Linked DNA regions of Homo sapiens: all the other regions are linked to region 2. The links are contacts of gene promoters, found by promoter capture Hi-C in blood cells and fetal thymus (Javierre and others, 2016). All regions are on one chromosome and are shown on one strand. Each heading gives the region's core, a stretch centred on a gene start or on the middle of the fragment in contact. The rest is flanking DNA. Distances are from core to core; before and after follow the strand shown. Region 1 overlaps CNOT9 (CCR4-NOT transcription complex subunit 9). Region 2 holds the start of GPBAR1 (G protein-coupled bile acid receptor 1). Region 3 overlaps USP37 (ubiquitin specific peptidase 37). Region 4 overlaps USP37 (ubiquitin specific peptidase 37).

Evidence for each region. The method cuts DNA at HindIII sites, captures the fragments that hold promoters and counts their contacts. A CHiCAGO score of 5 or more calls a contact.
Region 1: a contact is called between a fragment that was not itself captured here and the fragment with the promoter of GPBAR1 in region 2, in 7 of 17 cell types (neutrophils, monocytes, naive CD8 T cells and 4 more). The highest score is 10.3, in neutrophils.
Region 3: a fragment that was not itself captured here is called in contact with the fragment with the promoter of GPBAR1 in region 2 in 1 of 17 cell types (neutrophils); the score reaches 7.6 in neutrophils.
Region 4: a fragment that was not itself captured here is called in contact with the fragment with the promoter of GPBAR1 in region 2 in 12 of 17 cell types (neutrophils, total CD4 T cells, non-activated CD4 T cells and 9 more); the score reaches 11.2 in neutrophils.

The regions. Positions count from the first base shown.
Region 1 is chr2:218,581,117-218,584,463 of GRCh38, forward strand. CNOT9 (CCR4-NOT transcription complex subunit 9) reads left to right here. Exons shown (of 8, transcript NM_005444.3): 3 at 1,855-1,970. Among named protein-coding and RNA genes, the nearest start is that of CNOT9, 14 kb to the left of the region's middle. The HindIII fragment of the contact is 8,800 bases long and covers 1-3,347 here.
Region 2 is chr2:218,258,915-218,262,296 of GRCh38, forward strand. GPBAR1 (G protein-coupled bile acid receptor 1) reads left to right here and starts at 2,101. Exons shown (of 2, transcript NM_170699.3): 1 at 2,101-2,302. RefSeq lists an enhancer at 2,548-3,353. The HindIII fragment of the contact is 11,967 bases long and covers 1-3,382 here.
Region 3 is chr2:218,534,773-218,537,703 of GRCh38, forward strand. The region is part of intron 8 of USP37 (ubiquitin specific peptidase 37); the gene reads right to left. Among named protein-coding and RNA genes, the nearest start is that of USP37, 32 kb to the right of the region's middle. The HindIII fragment of the contact is 1,789 bases long and covers 620-2,408 here.
Region 4 is chr2:218,562,280-218,565,182 of GRCh38, forward strand. It overlaps USP37 (ubiquitin specific peptidase 37), which reads right to left. Exons shown (of 26, transcript NM_020935.3): 2 at 394-534. Among named protein-coding and RNA genes, the nearest start is that of USP37, 4.6 kb to the right of the region's middle. The HindIII fragment of the contact is 3,573 bases long and covers 1-2,903 here.

The DNA of each region.
Region 1 (3,347 bases), core at 374-2,873, 320 kb after region 2:
ACAATATATTCTATGGAAAAGAAATGGGTTTTTGGGTTTTTTTGTTTGTTTTTCTTTTTTTTTTTTTTTTGAGACGGAATCTCGCTCTGTCGCCCAGACTAGAGTGCAATGGTGCAATCCCGGCTCACTGCAACCTCTGCCTCCCGGGTTGAAGTGGTTCTCCTGCCTCAGCCTCCTGAGTAGCTGGGATTATAGGCCTGCATCACCATGCCTGGCTTTTTTTTTTTTAATTTTTAGTAGATACGGAGTTTCACCATGTTGGTCAGGCTGATCTTGAACTCCTGACCTCGTGATCCACCCACCTTGGCCTCCCAAAATGTTGAGATTACAGGCATGAGCCACCATGCCTGGCCTGGAAAGGAAATGTTGAAGGTATAACAGCTGTAGTATTAAAGGTGGGTACACTTGTACATTAAAGAATAGATAACTGAAGTTCAGTTCAAACCAGAATGGTCACTGGTGGCTAATTAACTGATATGGTACAATAACAATACCAAAATACCTAGGTAGTGGCATGATCATCCATTAAAGTATTGCCCCAAATTCCTAACAATTAGATTAACTTTTCAACTCTTAAGTAAATTCACATTCCATCTCTATTGCATTTAGCCAAGAAACTGATCTTTGTTATGGGAACGTTTTTCTATGTAAAAGTTTTACAAATAATGTAAATGGAAAATTGTAGCCAGGTGCAGTGGGTCATGCTTGTAATCCCAGCAGTTTGGCAGACTGAGTTAGGAGGATTGCTTGAGCCCAGGAGTTTGAGACCAACCTGGGCAACATGGCGAAACACCATTTCTACAAAAAATACAAAAATTAGCCAGGCTTGGTGGTACACTCCTGTAATCCCAGCTACTTGGGAAGCTGAAGTAGGAGGATCAATTGAGCCCAGGAGGTGGAGGCTGCAGTGAGCCATGATCATGCCACTGCACTCTGCCTGGATGACAGAGTGAGACCCTGTCTCAAAAAAAAAGAAAAAAAATGTAAATGGAATTGTATTGAGTAAATCATTACTTTTTGACAGATAGTGCATATATTCACTGCTGTTTATACATATCCCCACCCATTGATTCATGTCCTTACCATGTTACTACCTAACCAAATTCAAACTTCTTTATGAGTCACCGTGGTTGACTTAACACTTTCTGGCCAGTGATCTCATCACTGTAACTTAAAGCAGGATGCTAGCAAAATTATAAAAATTTGAGTATCCCTCAACTGATAGCCTCAGTAGCTGGAGAATATAAGAGGAAGTGTAGATGACTACATTTGCCTCCACAGAAATCTTCCTAGGCCGGGCGCAGTGGCTCACGCCTGAAATCCCAGCACTTTGGGAGGCCGAGACGGGCAGATCACGAGGTCAGCAGATCGAGACCATCCTGGCTAACACGGTGAAACCCCATCTCTACTAAAAATACAAAAAATTAGCTGGGCGTGGTGGCAGGCGCCTGTAGTCCCAGCTACTCTGGAGGCTGAGGCAGGAGAATGGTGTGAACCTGGGAGGCAGAGCTTGCAGTGAGTCAAGATCGTGCCACTGCACTCCAGCCCGGGTAACAGAGCGAGACTCCGTCTCAAAAAAAAAAATCTTCCTAGAGACAAATGTAGAAATGTGAGTCTCAAAAAAAAAAATCTTCCTAGAGACAAATGTAGAAATGTCTTAGCTAGTCTCAGCCAAGTAAGTTTGTGATGAAAGGATATGAGCATTATTTCTGCTCCCTCTTTGATGACTGAGTTCTTAAAAGATGCACAGAATTAAGAGCTATTTTATTTGCCTTTTTTTTTTTTTGCTTTATTACCATGGGAATTAATTTTTAGTTATTCCTTATTCATCTGATGCTGATTTCCATTTTTTAGGAAATTGTAAATATTTATCCATCTATCAACCCACCCACCTTGACAGCACACCAGTCTAACAGAGTTTGCAATGCTCTGGCATTACTGCAATGTGTAGCATCACATCCAGAAACCAGGTAAATGCTTTGGGTGAGTCACTTGGGGGAGATATACATTGAATATGGTCCTAAACGTTCTCTGAATAATAAAAGGAAGGGCATGGAGGAGAGAGAGAGAGAACGTTTGTGTGTGTGTGTGTGTGTGTGTGTGTGTGTGTGTGTGTGTCTCTCTCTCTCTCTCTCTCTCTCTCTCTCTCTCTCTCTCTCTCTCTCTCTCTCCTGGTCTTCCGGATTCTTATTTACTTTTACCCAATGAACTTTAAAGAAACAGTGTTCACATTACAGGAAAGGTATCAGGCATACAGCTACTTCTCACTCCCTGACCTGTTATTGACACTATGTCATCTGTGAGGCATAGTGCATGGCATATAAGAGGAGTTTAGTAATTATTTTTCCAGCACTTTTCCCACACTGAACCCAGATTTGACTTCAGAATCCTTCTTAACATAGCATTCTGGGCGGCCTCTATAATAGACGAGAATTGGCATGTAAGTTAAAATATTTTTGCCACCTGTCATATCTAAAAAATTAAGAAAAGGGAAATCCTGTTCAGGAATCTACTTTGTGGGCTTTTATGGCCCCAAAGGCACTTAATAGTCATCTTATTAAAGCCTTTCCTCTTTGTCAAGTTTCCTTATGAAATATGTATGCTAGGTTGGCACTGACCTTACACAGCTTTAGAGAAATTACTAAGAAAATTACTTTTAAGCACTTAACAAAAACACAAGAGTACTTTGAGTGTTAAAAATCTTGGGCGTTGGCTCTTCTACAAGGTGTAACTATAAATAATATAAAATAATAGACTGATTTCCTTATTAGTTGCCTGACTAAACTGTTTTCAGAATGGTTTGTGTATCTGAAATGCCCTAACAAAAAAAGAAGAATGTGCTTATTAAAGTATAGCAGGTAAGCCTGATAATGGCTGCTTTGTTTTGTTGTATTGGTTTGTAAGGTTTATTCGACTGCACCTGTGAATACTATTATTCAGTCATAGGTGAGGGAGATAATCTAGGACAATCTCTTGGACACTTAATAGCATTTTGTGGTCTATTTTTTAAAATCCACAATTGGATATTTTAAGTTAATCAGTTTGTAAGGTACTTTTTGCTGATTACAGGGAAAATCATGTGTTTTCTTAACCACTGTGATCTGGACTAGGGTTTTCAGCTTTGGCACCATTACCATTTGGGGCTGGATGAATCTTTGTGATGGAAAGGAGAGGGCAGGAGAGGACTGTCCTGTGCATTGTAGGATGTTTAATGGCATCTCTGGCCTCTTCCCACTGGATGCCAATAGTGCTTCATAATCCTGAGTTGTGACAATCAAAGATGTCTCCAGACATTGCCACATGTCCTCCAGGGGGCAAAATTTACCCCATTTGAGAACCATTGGTTG
Region 2 (3,382 bases), core at 851-3,350:
CCTCCATTGGTCCAGAGCTGGTACCCGCAGCCAGCATGACACTCACCCAGTCCCAGACATTGTGGGTCAACAGAGAGAAATTCAGATAGCTAAGAGAATGGAAGCGGACAAAGGAGGCACAGGAGGATTCCATGCCAGAGTCTGAATTGGTCACCCCCATTCAGGCTCTGCCTGAGGAAAGGAGAATGGGGTCCGGGCACAGTCAGCTGGATGGAGCGTCTGAAGACGGCTTGCACCAGAGCCCTCCGTGGCTGAAGGGAGAAGCTAGGGGGTGAGTCAGCCCCAGGGCTTGATGGAACAGACAGGAACTAGATGATCTAGGAAGGGAGAAATGAGGCTGAGCAGGAGACAGCCCAGGCTCCCTGGCTGCCACTACCTAATCTGTCCCCCTTCACACACATCCCACACACAGTGTTTAGACAGAGCAGCAGAGAAGAAACAGACATCCTGGATCCCACAGGGAGCAGGCTGGGGCTGGGAACAGGAGGTCTGTTTATTCCTGGAAGTCACATATCAGAAGGGTCCCACACCCACTTCTGTCCAGGCCCCAGGCTGAACTCTCCCAGAGCCTGTGACTTCTGCCCGACCAGATCCCGTGGTTCTGAGGACCGGCCCTGGAACCCTGCGTCCTTCCGACCCACCAGCTCCCTCGAGGATGGACTTGAGGCTGGATGCTTTCCTCTTCCCACTTTTTGTCCCAACAGAAGTCCCTGATCTCCAGGATCCCTGACTGGCTGTGCAGAGCTGGCACAGCCACACTCCACGGGCTTCCAGCCCTTCAGGCCCAGCTCTCCCGGAGAGCACCAGAGTCCCTTTGCTCCATTTACTTGCGCTCTTCAGCCAGCAAGTGTTTCCTAATGTCTCACCCCCAGTCCCAGCTTTCCTGCTGCAATTTCCGCCTGTTCCCTCCCATTTCAGGCCTTAAGGGAGTGTGGCTGGGCTTCTCTCCTCCCCCTCACTCCAAAGCCGCACTTGATACAAGGTGGAAATCAAAGCACCACTTCTGGCTTCCCAGCCTTGAACTTGCCCTTCCCTCTCAATGTATCTGGTTTCCTCAGCTTCCCTGTGCAGCAAGAGTGTCACTCCCCTCTTGCTTTTCCCAAGCTCCCCATGCGCCCCTCTCAGCAGATCTGTCTTAGAGGGGCCAGGTGCAGAGAAAGGCAGAAATCCTAATAATGTTCCCAGCGATCGCTGCCTGTCGCGGAGTGCTGAAGGGCCAAGTGTTGATCTGAGTCCTCATCACACGGGACTTCATTTAGTCTCACGATAGGTGAGTACAACTATGGGCCCCATTTGACAGATGAGGAAACTAAGGCAAGGGAACTTTAGTCATTTGCCCAAGTTCACTGGCTTTTTTAAAAAAGGATCCAGACAGCTCTGATTCCAGCGCCAGCTCATGCCTCTTCATCATGGGGGAGGAAAGAGAGGGAGCCATTTGTTGGGGCAAACCCCCACCCATCAAGGGCCATGCACTGGGGTATATGCCGCCATATGTGTTATCCTGTGATATTCCCCACCACGACCTTAATTAGAGGTGGTTTTTCTTGTTCCCATTTTAACACAGGCAAAAACCGAGGCCCAGTAGTACCTTACCCATGGTCACATCCCCAGAGCCATTTGTCCCTCATAGTTCAGAACTTGACTCAGAAAGCAGTTGAGAAAAGTGTGGAATGACCCCAGATTCAGGAAGGCAAGTCTGGCCTTAGAAACTGAAAGGCCCATCAGGTGATGGGATGGGGGAGTGAAGATCCTCAGGCCCCAAACACCTGCCACTGCCACCATCACACACGGAAGTGTGGAGGGAGCCTGGTGTGCTGTCAGCTGGCTGGCCAGTCCAGGGGCTTAAATGTAAATGCATCAGCTGAGGCGGGAAGTCGGGAGGGGTAAGTCAATCATTATTATTCATTAACTGGAATGCATTTCTCAGATTACTCCGAGCTGGAGTAGGGAAACTGCCACCTAGGTGGCAGGGGGAGAGGGGAACTGGGTGGGAGGGGGAGGCAGGCCTCCCAGTTGCTGCAGTTTGGAATATGTCAGGTCCCACCCTCCCAGAGGCGGGGCCAGGGCTGAGTCCTGCCAGCCTCATTTCTCTATCCCTCTGAGAACCCAGACGGGCAGAGCCTGGGTAGGAGAGCCTGGCCCCGCTGTCCCCACTGGGTGGAGACACCATGCACTTGGTCCACTTGTGCTCTTCAGCCAGGACACCAGACATGGTCCAAACCGCTGCAGGGCTGGCTGCAGCAACTCCCTGACACTCAGGAAGGCCCAGGCTGGGCAGGCAATACCTGCTCCCAACAGCCATGTGAGTAGCTACTCCCCCAAACCCCCAAACCCCAGATCCTGGAGAGGCTACTACACCCAGCCCAAGCCACCAGACCCTCGGGGGTGTGCAGGTGGTACAGCCTGCACCCTGCTGGGAAATCACCCCTGGGGGCTGCTCCCTGCCTTTGTCGCTGTTCTAGTGGAGGTGGGTTGGGGGGAATCATTCCGATTAGGGCTGGGAGCTCCAGCTCAGGCCAGGTTTGGGGTAATGGACCCTGAGTCTCACGGGACTTAAGAGAGTTGATGATGCCCTGGGAAAGGGAACAGAAACTGCAAGGCCTCTAGAGAGGAAAAGACATCCTGGGTGGAGGGCACTGGAAGAGATTGAGAAAGAGAAAACATGCTTAGGGGAGGGGAAAGGGGGCATAAGGCCTTGGAGGCCCAGGCTCAGGGTGCTGGGGGAACCTGGGAAGGAAGGGGAGCATCTTCCTTCCTCTCAGCTCAGGGCAGCCATGGGGCCCTGATCCCCTGTCCTGGAGGAGGGGAGAGGTATGAATCCTTTCCTTATTGACTTGGATCCTAGCAACAGCAGCTGCTCCCCTGTTGACAGAAGCAGGAGTTCCCACAGGACCCAGGACCCCTCCCCCTGTCCCCAGGATGTGGCAGCAGAGCCATGACACTGGAGGACTGAGACCAGGGAATGACGGGAAGGACAGGGACAGATGAGAGCCACAGAGAAGCCAGACTCTGCCCAGACTCCTCTTCCCTCTCCTCTGGGCTCAGCCTCAGGCCTGGGGGTGTGGGGGAGTCCCTCTCCTTGCTGCTGGCATCTCCACGTTCACTGCCACACGTGCCCTCCAGCTGCTTCTCTCCTCCCTCCAGCTCCCAGGAAGGACCCTGTTGCTAGTGTGGAGCAAAGACGAGTCAAGTTTATGGGCTGGAAGTCCTACCCGGAGGCTGCTCACTGAGCTGTGATGGCTACAAGGACAGATGGGGGGAAGGGTGCAGGGTGCCCGAGACCTGGCCCGCTGGAGCCTGTCACCTAATGGCTGGCTGGAAGACCACTACACACCAGCCAGCCCTGGTCCATTCTCTCATTTAGAGGCCTCCCCGGTGGAGG
Region 3 (2,931 bases), core at 264-2,763, 280 kb after region 2:
GTTGTCATTAAAACATTTACATTTAAAGTGCCAAATTCATTGATATGCTTGAAAATTAAGCTACAAGATTGTTAGTCTCAAAAGGTCAATGACTTAAACAAATGAAAATTACAAAAATAATCTTTAATTACTATCTCAAGAGCCAATCCAATCCATGACTCTGATAACTTAGCAAAAGTAAAGGAGCATTTTTCTTTATATAAAAGTCAAATCAGAGACAGCAAGATTATTAGATTTTCTTGGCCAAAAGCAAGACCAGATAAAATGATTCAGCTACTAAGACCAAAAGAATCAATTAAAAAGTAAACTGTGGCCAGGCGCGGTGGCTCACTCCTGTAATCCCAGCACTTTGGGAGGCTGAGGCGGGCAGATCGCGAGGTCAGGAGTTCGAGACCAGCCTGGCCAACATAGTGAAACCCCGTCTCAACTAAAAATACAAAAATTAGCCAAGCATGGTGGCGCGTTCCTGTAGTCCCAGCTACTCGGGAGGCTGTGAGGCAGGAGAATCACTTGAACCTGGGAGGTGGAGGTTGCAGTGAGCCGTGATCGCGCCACTGCACTCCAGCTTGGGCAACAGAGTGAGTCTTAGTCTTAAAAAAAAAAAAAAGTACAATGTTCAAGCTTGGCAGTTTATAGGTTTACAAAGAAAAACAAATCAGGCTGGGCGCGGTGGCTCAAGCCTTAATCCTAGCAGCTTGGGAGGGCGAGGCGGGCGGATCACCTGAGGTTGGGAGTTCGAGACCAGCCTGGCCAACGTGGGAAACCCCATCTCTATTAAAAATACAAAAATTAGCTGGGAGTGGGCTGGATGCAGTGGCTCACACCTGTAATCCCAGCACTTTGGGAGGCCGAGGCAGGTGAATCATGAGGTCAGGAGATCAAGACCATCCTGGTTAACACAGTGAAACCCTGTCTCTACTAAAAATACAATAATTAGCTGGGCGTGGTGGCGGGCACCTGTAGTCCCATCTACGCAGGAGGCTGAGGTGGGAGAATGGCGTGAACCCGGGAGGCGGAGCTTGCAGTGAGCCAAGATCGCGCCACTGCACTCCAGCCTGGGTGACAGAGCGAGACTCTGTCTCAAAAAAAAAAAAATTAGCCAGGCGTGGTGGCAGGCGTCTGTGATCCCAGCTATTCAGGAGGCTGAGGCAGAAGTATTGCTTGAACCCAGAGGCAGAGGTTGCAGTGAGCCAGGGATCACGCCATTGCACTCCAGAATGGGTGACAAGAGCGAGACTTCATCTCAAAAAAAAAAAAAAAAAAAAAAAAAGGAAAAGAAAAATCAAAATCAAAACTGTGTATTCCACATGAATAGCAATACTATTTGCTAAGCAGCAACAGCATTTTAATTTATATTGATTAAAATTCTTTAGGATCATGAATACAAAGTTAAAATTTCTTTTAAAAGCCCTTTTCTCCCCTGTATTATTTTCAAATACCTCAACCCATATAAGTAGAGAGTGTCCATTCAAATAAATGTTCATGCTTTAACAGTGCTAATTTAAGGGGAACCATCATGAACTAAGCCTGTGGCAGACAATGCCTAAGTGTGCCCCACCTAGATTCCCACTGACTCATTTTTATATTCTCTCTTCCATATCTTCACACCAACTTATGTTTTTGATAGCCAGTACCAAGGGCTCTTCTTCACAGGACTGCCCTCAAGTTACTAGAGATACTTTGCCTGTAATCTCAGAGTCACAAACAAGGCCGGGCGCTACAGTAGAGAAGCCCAGCTCTCCTGATTTGGATTAAAACAACTTTATGGTGGAAGCTACATAACAGATTTCTGTAATATCAGGATGAAGACTAACCTTCATGTCCTTGTGTGACTTCTCCAGGATCACATCCATGCTTTGTTTCCTGCCCTTAACTATATTGCTTTCCTTACTCCCTTCACTATCTTCTCTGGGAGTACTTCCTTAGTAATTCACATGCACACTAATCTCCATTTCAGATTCTGCTTCTGGGGAACATAATCTACAACAGCTGGTACTAAAAGTGGGCCTAGGAAGCACACTCTAAGGATAGGATTCTGGAATTGGACCCTTGTTTGGCAATGGCAACAGAAATTCTGTTGCTGATAGTAATACCTCTGACATCTTATAGTGTTACAATTGCTAAGATTTTCACCTATGGTGAATTAGGATGAAATAAGGTAGAGAAGGATAGGGCTCACGCAGTATCTCCAGTATTTTAGAAATGTGGTAGAATGATTACACAATAGATCGTATTGGGGTAATGGAAATGTTCTGAAACTAGATAATGATGACGTAATATAACTAAAAAAATTTACTAAAAATCATTGACTTATATACCCTTAAAATGGGTCAATTACATGGTATGTAAATTGTAGCTTAATAAAGTTGTTTTTAAAATGTCGCAAATTATTTCACTCCCTATATTCAAGCTTCTAATCAATAAATTCAGTCTATTTCTTCATCCCTTAATGGGGCTAGTCCTGTGATTTCCTTTTCCCAAAACAATGTGACAGAAGTTAACAGTGTGTGAGTTCTGACCCTAAGTCTAAAGGTGCCCTGCAGGTTTCCACTCACTCTCTTGGAACCCTGCCACTGCTATGTGAATAATCCCAGGCTAGCCTGTTAACAGTGGAAGACACATGGCCCAATCACGCCCACCACTCAATGGCCAGTTATATGAGTGAGGCCATCCTAGACCAGTCAAACTCTAGCCAAACCATCTACTGACTACAGAGGCGTAACAAAATTAGAATCCAGGTACTATGAGCCAAACTGGGCCCAGATAAACAGAACCACCCAGGTGACCATAAATTCATAAGCAAAAATGAATAGTTACTATTTCAAGTCACTAAATTTTGGAGTGGTTTGGATACAGCAACAGATAAGATGTAGGTGATATCAGGTAAATAATCATCAAAAAGACTATGGAATTGACTGGTTGATGCTGAGT
Region 4 (2,903 bases), core at 296-2,795, 300 kb after region 2:
GGGTTTCCTTAAACTCGGTAATGGTAATTGTCTTATTAAAGCAAAAAAATAAGAAGACAAAAGATAATTAAAATGAATTATTCTTTAAATATGTCCAGAGATTCTTTCTCTAAATTTCTTCACAATTATTAAAATTACTGTTCAACTTTGAGCATCACCATGAATGCTCAAAGCAACAATATTAGCAAAAATGTTTCTATGCCCTGTACATTTATTTAAGTGCTCACATTTTAGGTACTGCTTTGAAAACATCCTTAATCAGAGAGCATTCAGTGGTAAATAAAGTATGGCCAAAACACAAAAACTATTACTACAAAACAAACACAAAACTGTCAGTTCCCGCCAGATTGCATGCTCTTTGAAACATATATCCAAAACAAAAACATTACTTACTTTTCAGTGACTTTTACCGAAAAACCCTATGTAATAGCAATTCACCTTTATTCTGATCCTTGTGCCAAAGGCAAAGCACTCTTCTTGGGACACTACTCATATTCTGCAGCTATGCCAGTTCTCCGGAAGCCATCAACTCAGCTAAAGAAAATAAAAATGTGCTTTTTAAAAAGAACCCAATATACAAAATTAATACTTAAAAGAAAGTGGGCTGGGCACGGTGGCTGACGCGAGTAATCCCAGCACTTTGAGAGGTGGAGGCGGGCAGATAACCTGAGGTCAGGAGTTCGAGACCAGCCTGACCAACATGGAGAAACCCCGTCTCTACTAAAAATACAAAATTAGCTGGGCGTGGCAGTGCATGTCTGTAATCCCAGCTACTCGGGAGGCTGAGGCAGGAGAATTGCTTGAACCCAGGAGGTGGAGGTTGCAGTGAGCAGAGATCACGCCATTGCACTCCAACCTGGGCAACAAGAGCAAAACTCCATCTCAAAAAAAAAAAAAAAGGAAAGTGATCGTTTATACAACAAAGATTAACTTCTTGGTTATTTAAAAACTACAGATTACCTTAATGAAAATATTTAAAATATGATGCACAACACACAGAGACACACATAAAAGATCAACAGAACTTTAGGAACTTATCTGCTGTGCATAATGAGGGATTACAGGATGAGCCTGCACCTTGTTCAACTTGTACCTTGGTTTATTCATTCTTGCTACATTTTGAAACTAAGAAGTCAGTGAGAAAGAATATGTCCTTTGTTCACTTTATAAACATTGTTACATAATAATGTCTTAAGTCTTAAAACTTCCATAACATGTTGATACTATTTCAAAAGGTGGGTAAACTTGGTGCTTTCACTTTTCTTTCAAAGCTAACATTGTTTCTCAAATTAGGCTTCACTAGGCCTGAACTTTCTCTGAAGTTCTACCCGCACATCTCTCACTGCCTATCTGAATGCTACAACATCAACTTTAAACTCCTTTGTTCATTTAGTAAACAACATTTATTAAGCTACTGCACTTTCAAGGCACCCTGGTAGGCATATAGATGTGAAGATGATACAGTCCATGCCCTCATTAAGAAGCTCCTAGAGGCCAGGCACGGTGGCTCACACCTGTAATCCCAGCACTTTGGGAGGCAGAGACAGGCAGATCACCTGAGGTCAGGAGTTCGAGACCAGCCTGGCCAATGTGGTCTCGAACACATTGAGACCACAATGTGTTCTCACTAAAAATACAAAATTTAGCTGGGTGTGGTGGCACACACCTGTAGTTCCAGCTACTTGGAAGGCTGAGGCAGGAGAGTCATTTGAACCTGGGAGGCAAAGGTTGCAGGGAGCAGAGATCACACCACTACACTCCAGCCTGGGTGAGGGAGCAAGACTCCGTCTCAAAAGAAAGAAAAAAAAAGAAGCTCCCAGACTTCCCTACTTTTGTCCTTCTACCATCATTCAGGCAAGAAATCTTGGCATCAGCTTTATCCTCACTCTTATCTACTCAAATCCCAGATTTTCAATAGCTACTACTCTCAGAAACTCATCACTATGCCATCATCCCACCTAGTATTTATTATGCAACCCAACATTTATTATGCAACATTTACTAAGCAGTGCTAAATGCCATACATGCATTATCTCAATTTAATTTTTAAAATAATCCTAAGTGATAGGGATATTATCTCTATTTCACAGATGAGGAAACTGAGGTTTAGAGACATTACATAATTTATAAATACAGTCAGTGAGAAACAAAGCTATGTCTAATGCCAGAACCTACATTTTTAACTACAACCACAGTTCATCCTCATCAATGAATTATGGCAACCCCTTCCCTTTCCAGTCTCAGCTCTTGGGGTTTTACCTCCAACAAATCCTTTACATTGTAACATCCTTTCTAAAGAACTACTCTTTTTACCACTTTTCAACTGAACTATGCACTAGGTATCTTCTTAACTTTCTCCCTAAGGTGGGAGTGGGGGGTAGAGGTGGGGCACGGGACAGGGAGGTAACACACAGAACTTGGGTACTCTAACTGTATACTCCAACAAAATAACAAACACTTGTTAAGTGCTAAATGGTTGCCATTGATGCTAGGACCTTCCCAAACTAAATAGCTCATCACTACCTAGAAAATAAAATAAATCCAAATGCTTGTGTTTGGTATTCATACACCTCCATTTTAAATTCCCTATTTTTCAACACGAATCCTGTTCTACACATACAAAAATTATTATATTTTAATATTTTCTTTCTTTTTCATTTGAGACAGAACCTCATTCTGTCACCCAGACTGGAACACAGTGGTGCCATCTTGGCTCACTGCAACCTCCACCTCCTAGGCTGAAGCAATCCTCCCACCTCAGCCTCCCAAGTAGCTAGGACTACAGGCACATGCCACCAAACCCGGCTAATTTTTGTAATTTTTTATAGACATGGGGTTTTGCCATGTTGCCCAGGCTGGTATCGAACTCCGGGGCTCAAGCGATCCGCCCACCTTGGTCTCCC